Regions from separate parts of the Homo sapiens genome. Here region 2 is linked to region 1. The links are contacts of gene promoters, found by promoter capture Hi-C in blood cells and fetal thymus (Javierre and others, 2016). All regions are on one chromosome and are shown on one strand. Each heading gives the region's core, a stretch centred on a gene start or on the middle of the fragment in contact. The rest is flanking DNA. Distances are from core to core; before and after follow the strand shown. Region 1 overlaps PNRC2 (proline rich nuclear receptor coactivator 2). Region 2 holds the start of PITHD1 (PITH domain containing 1).

Region 1 (4,964 bases), core at 1,568-4,067:
AGAAAAATAGATAATTCCCTTATTCAGTAAATGTCTACTGAGCACAATCTAGTGAATCATTACAGTATGGCCTCATTGTTTTGTTTGAGGTGTGTTATTCATAACAATATTTTACACCATTCGTATCAATGTAATTATAGAACACAATATACGATCAAGGATAAGTAATTGTGTGGTTATCTGCCATTTAAAAGTATCCAGTATTTGATCACATTATTATAAATAATGAAAAAATGATTTAATCTGTAATAAACTGGTTTATTGTGCAGTGACTGTAATATACTAGAGTTATAATAAATTGTTTACTCTGCCTCACCAAACACATGCTAGGATATAACCCCCAAAATAAGTATTTAACTTTGCATTAGGTATAAAGGAGACTGGGTGCTATAATTAGATTATTTTGAGGCAGACAGAGAGCTGTTATCCTAACTGATTTAGTATGTTCTGTAATTGAGAAAATGTTCACCAAATTATACTTTTTAGTGATTTACATGTACATTTTATAGGGGACATGTTCTGTGTATAGCGAATAAATAACTTTTATAGTATCACAAAATGTTTTGGATTCCTTAGTTTCTTATTAGGATATGATGTTTCTTTACCTATACATTGATTTCATCACATTTGATTTTTGTCATCTTTTTTGCCACATACTTAAAATTTTCCATATAAAATTAACTAAAAATCTGGAAGTGGAATTTAAGCTTTTAATTTGTAGCAATTTTGAAAATATAGCAGAGGTATATTTTCAAGGGAGGTGTGAAATGGAGGTATTATTGTTTGTATTTTATTTTAGAAATTTTGTTTGAACTTGCCCAAGATCACACAGCAAGTGTCAGATCCTAGGTTACAGCCCATAATTTTTCACTTGTTTCATCTTTTGTTACCATGTTTGTTGTTTAATCCAATGGGGAAGTGTTTTTATAGCTTTATTTTCATGGAGATAGTAACATTGATATAATGGGATCTAGAATTTACTTAGAGTCAAAGTGACTAGATTTAATTACAAAAAGTATTTTGTTGTATACCGTTATACACTCATTAACATAGGGGTTCTTATGGACAGAGGTTCTATGTATTTTTAAAAGAATATGTAGAGGCTATAGACTTTTTTGCCCTCTACCTCCCTTCTCCATTTCCTTTTGAAGTTAAGACATTTAAGGGGGAGAATTAAGGTGCATATTGAGTTGGGGTTTTGTTTAAAAAAAATTAGGTAAATACATATATAACTACAATAACAACAGTTGGTAGTTCTCTAAAATATTTAATTATGGTAAATCAGAAAAGGCCCTTTAATTTTTGCATCTGTTGAATGAATTGCTTTAGGATCTCTTCTGTGGTTGTTTCTCTCTATACTGAATGCTGTCAATATTATTGAGCACTTACTGTGCCGAACCATGTGCTTTTCAAATATTTCTATTTAATCCTAAAAACACTCCTGGGAAATGGGTATTATTCCCATTTTACAGATGAGAAAATTGTCCTTTGTAGAATACCCATCATGTGATAGCTTCTTGCATATTATGCTATTCATTTCTCACAACCTTACAAGGTAAATGGATAATGTTCCTGGATGAGAGATTAAACGTACTCGAAGATCTTATGGTTGTGTGGCTCAGAGACTCTAAGCATGGCTTTCCAAATCTCATTCTCTTGTAGAGATTTTCCATTGTATTGCATTTTGACCATGTTCCTGTTTACAAAACCTAAGATTATATTCTGAAGTATCTGTGACTTGAGTGATAGCTCAGGAATAATCTGAGGGCATTCTATTAGGAAGGAGGACTAGCAAAGCCTATAGTTAGCCTATCCTAGGCATGAACTATTCTCATTTTAGATAGGATGACTTGATAAATAGGATGAAGTGAGCAACCTGTTTGTCTTCGGTTATTGCTATCTACAAGACATTCTGCTAGTCACTGTGGAAAAGTTTCCTTCTCTTGGGTTTTTTCCTCTTCCCCTTCCTCTTAACAGTGTTGGTTATCTTTATTATGTTTCTGTGTATTTGTAACAGCTGTTTCACCCTTGTATTGCATAATGGGGATTTTTCTTGGAATAAAAAGTGAGGCATGTAAATTCATTGAGAACTAACCGTAGTTTGTAAAGAAGTAAAAGGCCTTTGTATCTAGTTTTTTGCAGATCACATTTCTTTGAATGCTGGAAAGTGAAATAAACTGGTCTAGGAGCCAAAAATAAATCTTGGGTTTTTTTAAGATTTTGCTCTTAGATTTGTAACCACCTGGGTACAACTTTTTCCTAATTTGTGTAAGAGGTTTTAGAGATGCACTCTGTCCCTCTTGCTTTACAAATTGCCTACAAGAATGCAACCAAAATACTAGAAACTGAAACTTACACAAAACCTTTCAGGTTTTTTCCTGTGTTGTAGTTCTAGGGAAGAGGATAGTTTATTAGTATTTATTTTAAGCTTAAGGATAGGTTTTGGACCTGGATTCCATCATAGTATAACTGCCATCGAAAAGAAGACAAATTGAAATTACAGCATTTACCTAAGGTTCACAGTATGGCTGACTTCAGCAGCCTTACATGGTAAGTTCTCTGTACCAGCTATTTTTGGTTCTCGCAATTGCATCGACTTGGGAAATTCCTATCACCATTCTCTATATAGGCTAACCAAAACTTTTATCAGTACCTTTCCTAAAGTATGAAGTTAGGTAATCTTCCACTCCCACTTCCATTTACTCATTTTGCTTGAGTCAAACCAAAAATCTAGTGTATTACTAGATTAGTCACTAAAAATCTAGTGTATTCAATATATACACTAGATTCAATATATAGCTTAAAAACTAACAGACACCTAGGCTGAGATTTGTCCAATACATGAAGTTCAATTCTGCAATCCTTGGCATTGTTCACAGAAATTACCCTGGAAACAAAATGAACACCCAAATGCTGGTTCTGCCTTAACTCCAAATTGTTAACTAGTTTGCATGAAAATAATACAGCTTTGCCATGGGACTAGTTGTAGCATTTTAAGGATTACTCAAACTAGTTTTAAGATGCCCTATCATTTGGAATCTGTATCAGAAAGGTGTGGTTGTGATGCTTTTCTTCTGAGGGGTCCCCTTATATACTTTTCATTTGTCAACATACTTAAAACACAAGGGTTCTTGTCAACTTGATAAATTTGCTTATAATTTTTTTTCTATGAACCTAGATCATGGAATTAACTTTCAAAAGCTTTGCGATGTTTTCCATGTGTGGCCTTTTTTTTGCTTTTTAATTAACACTACTGGGAGAGAGAAATCCTAAGTAGTTGCTTAACTGCATAGCTGTCAAATCCTAGTATCTTCTGTATCAGTCAGCAAACTAGTTGCCCCTTTTCAAGCCAACAGTCCTATCACATTTTAGTTGTGACCTTTTTTATATATACGTATATATATATGATCAGAAATGTAGTGGTTCATAGTTCTGGAGTCTGAGAAATCCAAGAGTTTGGAATATTGTGAGTGTATTATGAGCTTCAAGTCAGTGACAAGTAAAACACATTTTTAAAAAGAATATTAAGCAATCAAAACCATTTTTAAAATAAAACCAAGCCAATGGGGAAAAATTTTATTTAATTTTATGCTTCACATTCATATCATGTACATTAAGTACTACATAAACTTGTCTTTAGGCTATCAATATTTAACTTGGGCAGTACTTCATCTTGATTTATTTGGAGAAATACAGCTTAGGCATCTGCTTACCTGCTTAGGCATCAAGAGGTGCCAAATTAGAAAATAGGGCATTAACAATCAAAATTTTTAAGCTGACCCACATACTTGCTACTGGTTTCGCTTATGTTTAAGCATTTAAAGTTGGCAAAACATGTTATCAATGTATTATGCAAGAGTTTACATCTTTTGCATAAGTGGTCCATTGGGTTGCACCTACCCCTTGACCAAACAAAAACAAAACATCACTGGCACCATACTCGAAACTACCTGTATCCTAGGTTATAAGATTGTGAAAGCCAACAATCTATAAGGTTGGAGGGACTCTAGTTAATCTTTGGGCTTAGAGGAGGAAAAAAAGATAGTCCCATACTGCATTTCACATCTCTTAAAAATAGTTTTAGCAGCTTAAACCTTTTTAGTTATAAAACTTATTACACTAGGGTTTACTTTGAAATATAGTTTACAACCAAATCAAGTATAACATACATACACTGGCACTTTAGCACAAGGGCAAACTTTAAAAACAAGTTATTTTGGACCTTTAAAATTAGGCCATATTATAAAAAACAGTCCACGGTCTTACATTCAGCAAATTCATACTAAAATACTCCATTTTTGTAAGATAAAGGCCAAGAAAACTTTACATATGCTACAAGTTTATTACAGATATTTACATGGCTCTTTCTCCCCTAGGTACTTAAAATTTTCACATTATCCAACTCCCCAAAGCAAGCTTTGCAGGAATGATGAGGCCAGAGCACTATTAGAATAGCTTGTGCAGTGCTGTAATACAAAAATGTATTTTGAAAGCTATTGAGTGACCATTAAATACTGTTTCTATAAAAAATGGTTTTGGTGTATTTGTTGACAGACACTTAATCCACTACATTTAATAAACAGGGCCATTGGGGTGTACTATGTCTCATTCTAATGAGCTCCAAATGCCCTTTCCACCCACTGTACAATTCACTAAAATGCAATTATTACGAAAAATTCACATTTTCTTTCAGCAGTGCATCAGGTTAGCATATTACTGGTTTGGGTGTTTCTAATATACTAAACCTTCAGATGTTTACCTAATTCTGAATCCTTGTGTTAGCTAGAAGCTTATAATCCGATTCACCAACTTTCAACAATCTACTGGTCCATGAATGATAAATTACTGTCTTCCCCTAACAATAGAAAAAGCTGATTCCTTTACCACTCCCCAAATCTAAACTTGGTTTCCACTTAAAAGTTACTCAGTTGAGAACACTTAATATCAAGTACAATCATTAGTTT
Region 2 (5,258 bases), core at 217-2,716, 190 kb after region 1:
GCTTGACATTGCCCGTAAATCTGCCAGAATGCAAAAGAGAAGGTTGTCAAACCTGAGTTTGAATACCTGTTTAGTTGTGTGACCCTGGGCAAGACCCTTCCCCTGTATGGGCTTCAGTTTACTCATCTGTCAACTTGTACTAGATAATTTCTAAGATCCTGTCTACCTCTAGCATTCTACAATTCTAAGAAATCTACCTCAATTTCTCAGTTATTGTTCTACAAATACATCTGTTTCCAGTCTGCACCAAGAAAGCTATGATGCTTTCCTCCTCAAACCCACCAAAGTAATTTATCCCATTTCTAGAAGCAAATGTGTGCTCTTGACACCAGTGAATGAATCCATCTGAGGCAACTGGGTACAGCCTATTTAGCCTGAGGTAGGCACCAAGGAGATACTTACGGAATATTAAACAGAAGCTCTTCATCTGCATCACTTTCAACAAACTGGAGGGGATGGGGAGGGGGGAGGAGAAAGCAACAAATATTTGCTGAGAGCCTACAATTTCAGGCATCTCCCACCCTGCTCTACAACTGGGGTGCAATGGGAAGAGTCACTCTCCCTTGGTTTTCCAAGACTTATTAACTTGAAGCTAACCAGTCTTATCCAGTGTCATAACAGCCACAGGCCACCCAACTGGAAGGTTCTTAACAAAAAGCCCATGAATGAATTTCCAGGGTCGAAGAGCCTTCTGAAGTGTGAACTGAAAGGCAGGTGTTTATGTGCATTTTTCTGAGAAGAAGGTCCACTGCTTTCAAACAGATAGCAAAGGGGCCTGCGACCCCACAATGTAAAGAACATTTGCTCTATATGGGAACCACCTTTCATCTCCCTAGGCTCATCTTCACCAGGTAATATGATGAGGCAGCCATTAGCACCAATGGTCCAACGGCCCTCACGACCATCCTCTCTAGCCCACACAGCCCTGGAATAGAGCGTTAGGCTGTGTAGCTTGACAAAACTGTCCCCGTTCCCTCTAGGCCTCAGTTTCCCTATATGCAAAATGGGGAGACAACGCTGCTCGCCTCCCAAAGAGCTGGCAGGAGACAGGCACGGAAAAGCGCTTGGCAACCAGGCTGTCGTTATTCTTAACATCAGAAATGAGTAGACCGACGGCCCGAGGCCCCACACGCACCCTGCCCCGCCCGCCCCAAGCCCCAGGCGGCCCACCTTGGAGCGGTCGGTCCGCTCCTCCCACGGCTTGAAGACGCCGCGGCCGCTGCCCTCGCGGCTCTCGTTAAGGCATTGCAGCCGCTCCAGGTCGATGCGCAGGTACAGGCCGTAGGCCAGGCCGCGCTGCTCGGGCGGCTCCTCCCGTTCGGCGGCGCAGCGGCAGCCACCCCCGCCGTGGCTGTGACCGTGCGACATGGCAACGCCGCCACCTGCGCGTCCTCTCGGCCCCACCGCCGCGCTCGCTCGGCTCGGCTCGCCTCAGACCAGCTCCGCGCCGTTCAGCTCCGGCAACTAAGCGCGCCGCGCCTGCCGCGTCGTAAAAAGCGCCGCTGCGCGGCGCATGCGCGTGGGGAGAAGGCGGGGGGGCGGGGGGGGTGGGGTCGAGCGGAACTGACGTAGGACGCGCGCCTCCCAGGTGCCAGAGTTCGTATATGACTCCAGTCCTGGCGCTGGATGCTGCTGCTGTTCCAGCTTCCTAGGTGTGGAAACTGAAGGACCAAGAGATTAAACAGGTGTGCTGAGTAAACTCACAGGCTGAGATTCGAATTATCCTCCCCCGACGAGGATGGAGCCTTCGCTGTCTTCCTTGATCGCCACGTTTCTTTGCGAGCCGATGAAGGAAAGCGTGAGGAATGATAAGGCCCTGGAGACTGGAGAACGCGAGCTTATCGCTGTCTCACATGCGCACGGCTTAGACGTTGAGAGCTCACAGGCCCACTTGCATAACCACTTTCTTGATAGCGGGGTTACAGCTTGAGAGCATGGGGCTTTGTGCACGGCCAGACCTAAAGACTACTCCTGGGTCTGCTACTGGCCATTGTGACACCTTAAGTCATTTCCCCTATTCTGAGACTCCGTTTCCCCGTCTGTAAGGTGGAAAGAATAGTATCTGTTTCATAGGATCACAGTGAGTATTAAATGAAATAATGCAATTAAAGAACTCAGCAGGCCGGGCGCGGTGGCTCACGCCTGTAATCCCAGCACTTTGGGAGGCCGAGGCGGGCGGATCACGAGGTCAAAAGATCGAGACCATCCTAGCCAACATGATGAAACCCCGTCTCTACTAAAAATACAAAAATTAGCTAGGCGTGGTGGCGCGAGCCTGTAGTCCCAGCTACTCGGGAGGCTGAAGCAGGAGAATCGCTTGAACCCGGGAGGCAGAGGTTGCAGTGAGCCGACATCGCGCCACTGCACTCCAGCCTGGCGACAGAGCAAGACTCTGTCTCAAAAAGAAAAAAAAAGAAAAAACTCAGCAAATGGCTGACACATGATGGGCATTCAGTAGCCGATGGTTATTACGGTCAAATCCAACCACAGCAACTTACTAGCTGCGTGGCCTTGGGCAAGTGACTTGATCTTCTGAGACTCAGTTTACCCCCTGTGAAGTGAAGGGATTGGACTAGATGATCTCTGCGTTTCCTCCCCCATGTGATATTTCAAAGTACTTTTTTTCGAACAGCTGGTTGTGGCCTGTCAATAGGTTTTAAAATCCGTTTATAGAGAATTGTGATCAACATTTAAAAAAAAAATAGAATACAAAAAAAAAAAAACCCAGAATGTATCACACATTTCAAGTCTCAATTGATGAAACTTTTGTTTCAGTTTTGAGTTTGTATTCAGACACAATATGATGTGTTTTTCATATTGTGGGTTGAGATCAAAATAATTAAAAGTCACTGTTTAGAGGTGAAATAATCTTGTTTTCAGGATAGAATGTTTTCCTACTCCCTGGTGGGGAAAAGACAGGATACAGAAAGAGAGTTATGGGATACCCTGGCTACCCTCTTCCCTTCACATCTGGCTCTGGAGTGCTCAGTGGGGCTGGTGAAGTATAGACCAAAATATCCATTTTTTCAAGTTCCATTCAGAAATATTTTCTGGGCCACATGCAGTGCCTCATGCCTGTAATCTCAGCACTTTTGGGAGGCCAAGGTGGGAGGATCACTTGAGCCCAGGAGTTTGAGACTAGCCTGGGCAACATAGGGAGACCCCATCTTTACAAAAATAATTAAAAATATTAGCCCAGCATGGTGGCTCATGCCTGTGGTCCCAGCTATTTGGGAGGCTGAAGTGGAAGGATCTCCTGAGCCTGGGAGGGTGAGGCTGTAGTGAGCTGTAATCATACCACTGCACTCCAACCTGGGTGTCAGAGCAAGACTGTCTCAAAAAAATAAAAACAAGAAAAATATTTTGATGTCCTATTTTAGTTACTTGTGCAATAAGCAAGCTTGGTTCTGTTTCAAAATAGCTCAGTGCCGTGAATTATTCCTGCTTTTAGGTCACAGTTTCAGGTAAGGGACCTGGAATGTGGCAAACAGTAAATGTTTACTTGACTGATATACTTGGTAGCCTTTCTTTGGTAAGAGTGTCCTTTTGAAGAACCAACTCAGGCCTTACCCCGGAGATCTACTCATTTTGGCTTTTTCCTGTTGCCTTCATTAATGATTTATTTGAGCACTGTGTGCTAAGCACATTATGTAGTTCATCTCAATTAATTGTCACATGAACTTTAAGAGCTAGGTACAGCCAGGTGTGGTGGCTCACACCTGTAACACTTTGGGAGGCCGAGGCGGGTAGATCACTTGAGGTCAGGAGTTTGAGACCAGCCTGGCCAGCATGGTGAAACCCCGTCTCTACTAAAAATAGAAAAATTAGCCAGGCATCGTAGCGTGTGCCTGTAATCCCAGCTACTCGGGAGGCTGAGGCAGGAGAATCGCTTGAACCCAGGAGGCAGAGGTTGCAGTGAGCCGAGATTGTGCCACTGCACTCCAGCCTGAGCGACAGAGCGAGACTCCATCTCAAAAAAAAAAAAAAGAGAGCTAGGTGCTATTACCTACTGTTATCTCCAATTTGAAGATGAGGAAAACTGAGGCTGAAAGAGGCAAACTAACTTGTCTGAGACTAGGTAAAGTTAGGAGGTAACCAGGCTTTGAACACATCCTGTAGTGTTCTTGTAACACATCAGTAGTTTCCTGGTTAGGGTGGGGAGGTTGAGGCGGGAGGTGCACACAAAGTAAATATGCTGTATCAATTAGCTTATGCTGTGTAACAGATTACCCTAAAACTTTGATAGCTTTAAACAACAAACATTGATTAATTCGCATGATCCTGTGGATTAGCTTTTCTGGGCCAGTTCAGCTTGGGCTGGAAAGTTTGGGATGGTCTCACTCTCGTCTGCTTGATGCTGGCTGTTAGCTGGGATGATGGGACCACGTGTCTCCAGCAGACAAGCCTAGCTAAATTACATGGTGATAATTGCAGAGTTCCCAGGAGCAAGAGAGGGCAAGACTCAATTGCACAAGCACTTTTTTTTTTTTTTTTTTTTTTGAGATGGAGTCTTGCTCTGTCACCTAAGCTGGAGTGCAGTGGCACAATCTCCGCTCACTGCAACCTCCCCCTCCCGGGTTCAAGCGATTCTCCTGCCTCAGCCTTCCGAGTAGCTGGGATTACAGGCGCCTGCCACCACGCCTGGCTAATTTTTGTATTTTTAGTAGAGATGGGGTTTCACCATGTTGGGCAGGCTGGTCTCAAACTTCTGACCTCAGGTGATCTGCCCACCTCGGCCTCCCAAAGTGCTAGGATTACAGGCATGAGCCACTGCGCCCTGCCAGCACAAGCACTTTTTAAGCCTTACATCTATAATCTTTCTATAATGACCCATCAGCCAAATCCAAATTCTAGAGTGGAGAGCTAGACTGTAGACTTCACCTCCTGATTGGAAGAACTGCAAAATACTGTGGCTCCTCCCCTCCCAGTAGGTCTGTATTAGTTGTCTTTTGTTGTGTAACAAATTATTCCCAAACTTAATGGCTTAAAACTGTAGCAGGACAAGCTGCAGATAAAACCTGTCAGACACCAGGTTAAAGAAGGAAGAGACTTTATTCGGCCAGGAGCGTTGGCAGAGTTGTGTCTCAAGAACCAAGCTCTCCAAAGAAAAAGTTCCTGGCCCTTTTAAGGGCTTATAACTCTAAGGGGGTCCACGTGAAAGGGTTGTGATAGATTGAGCAAGTGATCTATAGGTAACACATGTGGTTAGGGTGGGGGCGTTAATCTTTAACCTCAGGCCTGGTAAGTGGCATCAGTTG

What was found. Contacts are between HindIII fragments. The CHiCAGO score rates a contact against its expected background, and 5 or more counts as called.
Region 2: a contact is called between the fragment with the promoter of PITHD1 here and a fragment that was not itself captured in region 1, in 2 of 17 cell types (total B cells and erythroblasts). The highest score is 5.5, in total B cells.

What each region holds. Positions count from the first base shown.
Region 1 is chr1:23,962,040-23,967,003 of GRCh38, reverse strand. PNRC2 (proline rich nuclear receptor coactivator 2) reads right to left here. Exons shown (of 3, transcript NM_017761.4): 3 at 3,542-4,964. It overlaps SRSF10 (serine and arginine rich splicing factor 10), which reads left to right. Exons shown (of 6, transcript NM_054016.4): 6 at 1-2,657. Among named protein-coding and RNA genes, the nearest start is that of PNRC2, 4.7 kb to the right of the region's middle. The HindIII fragment of the contact is 773 bases long and covers 2,431-3,203 here.
Region 2 is chr1:23,774,626-23,779,883 of GRCh38, reverse strand. It overlaps PITHD1 (PITH domain containing 1), which reads right to left and starts at 1,466. Exons shown (of 6, transcript NM_020362.5): 1 at 1,171-1,466; 2 at 403-446; 3 at 1-20. The coding sequence starts at 1,368. It overlaps ELOA-AS1 (ELOA antisense RNA 1), which reads left to right and starts at 1,587. Exons shown (of 4, transcript NR_038280.1): 1 at 1,587-1,685. RefSeq lists enhancers at 1-536, 1,790-2,742 and silencers at 1,087-1,136, 1,227-1,536. The HindIII fragment of the contact is 11,008 bases long and covers 1-3,402 here.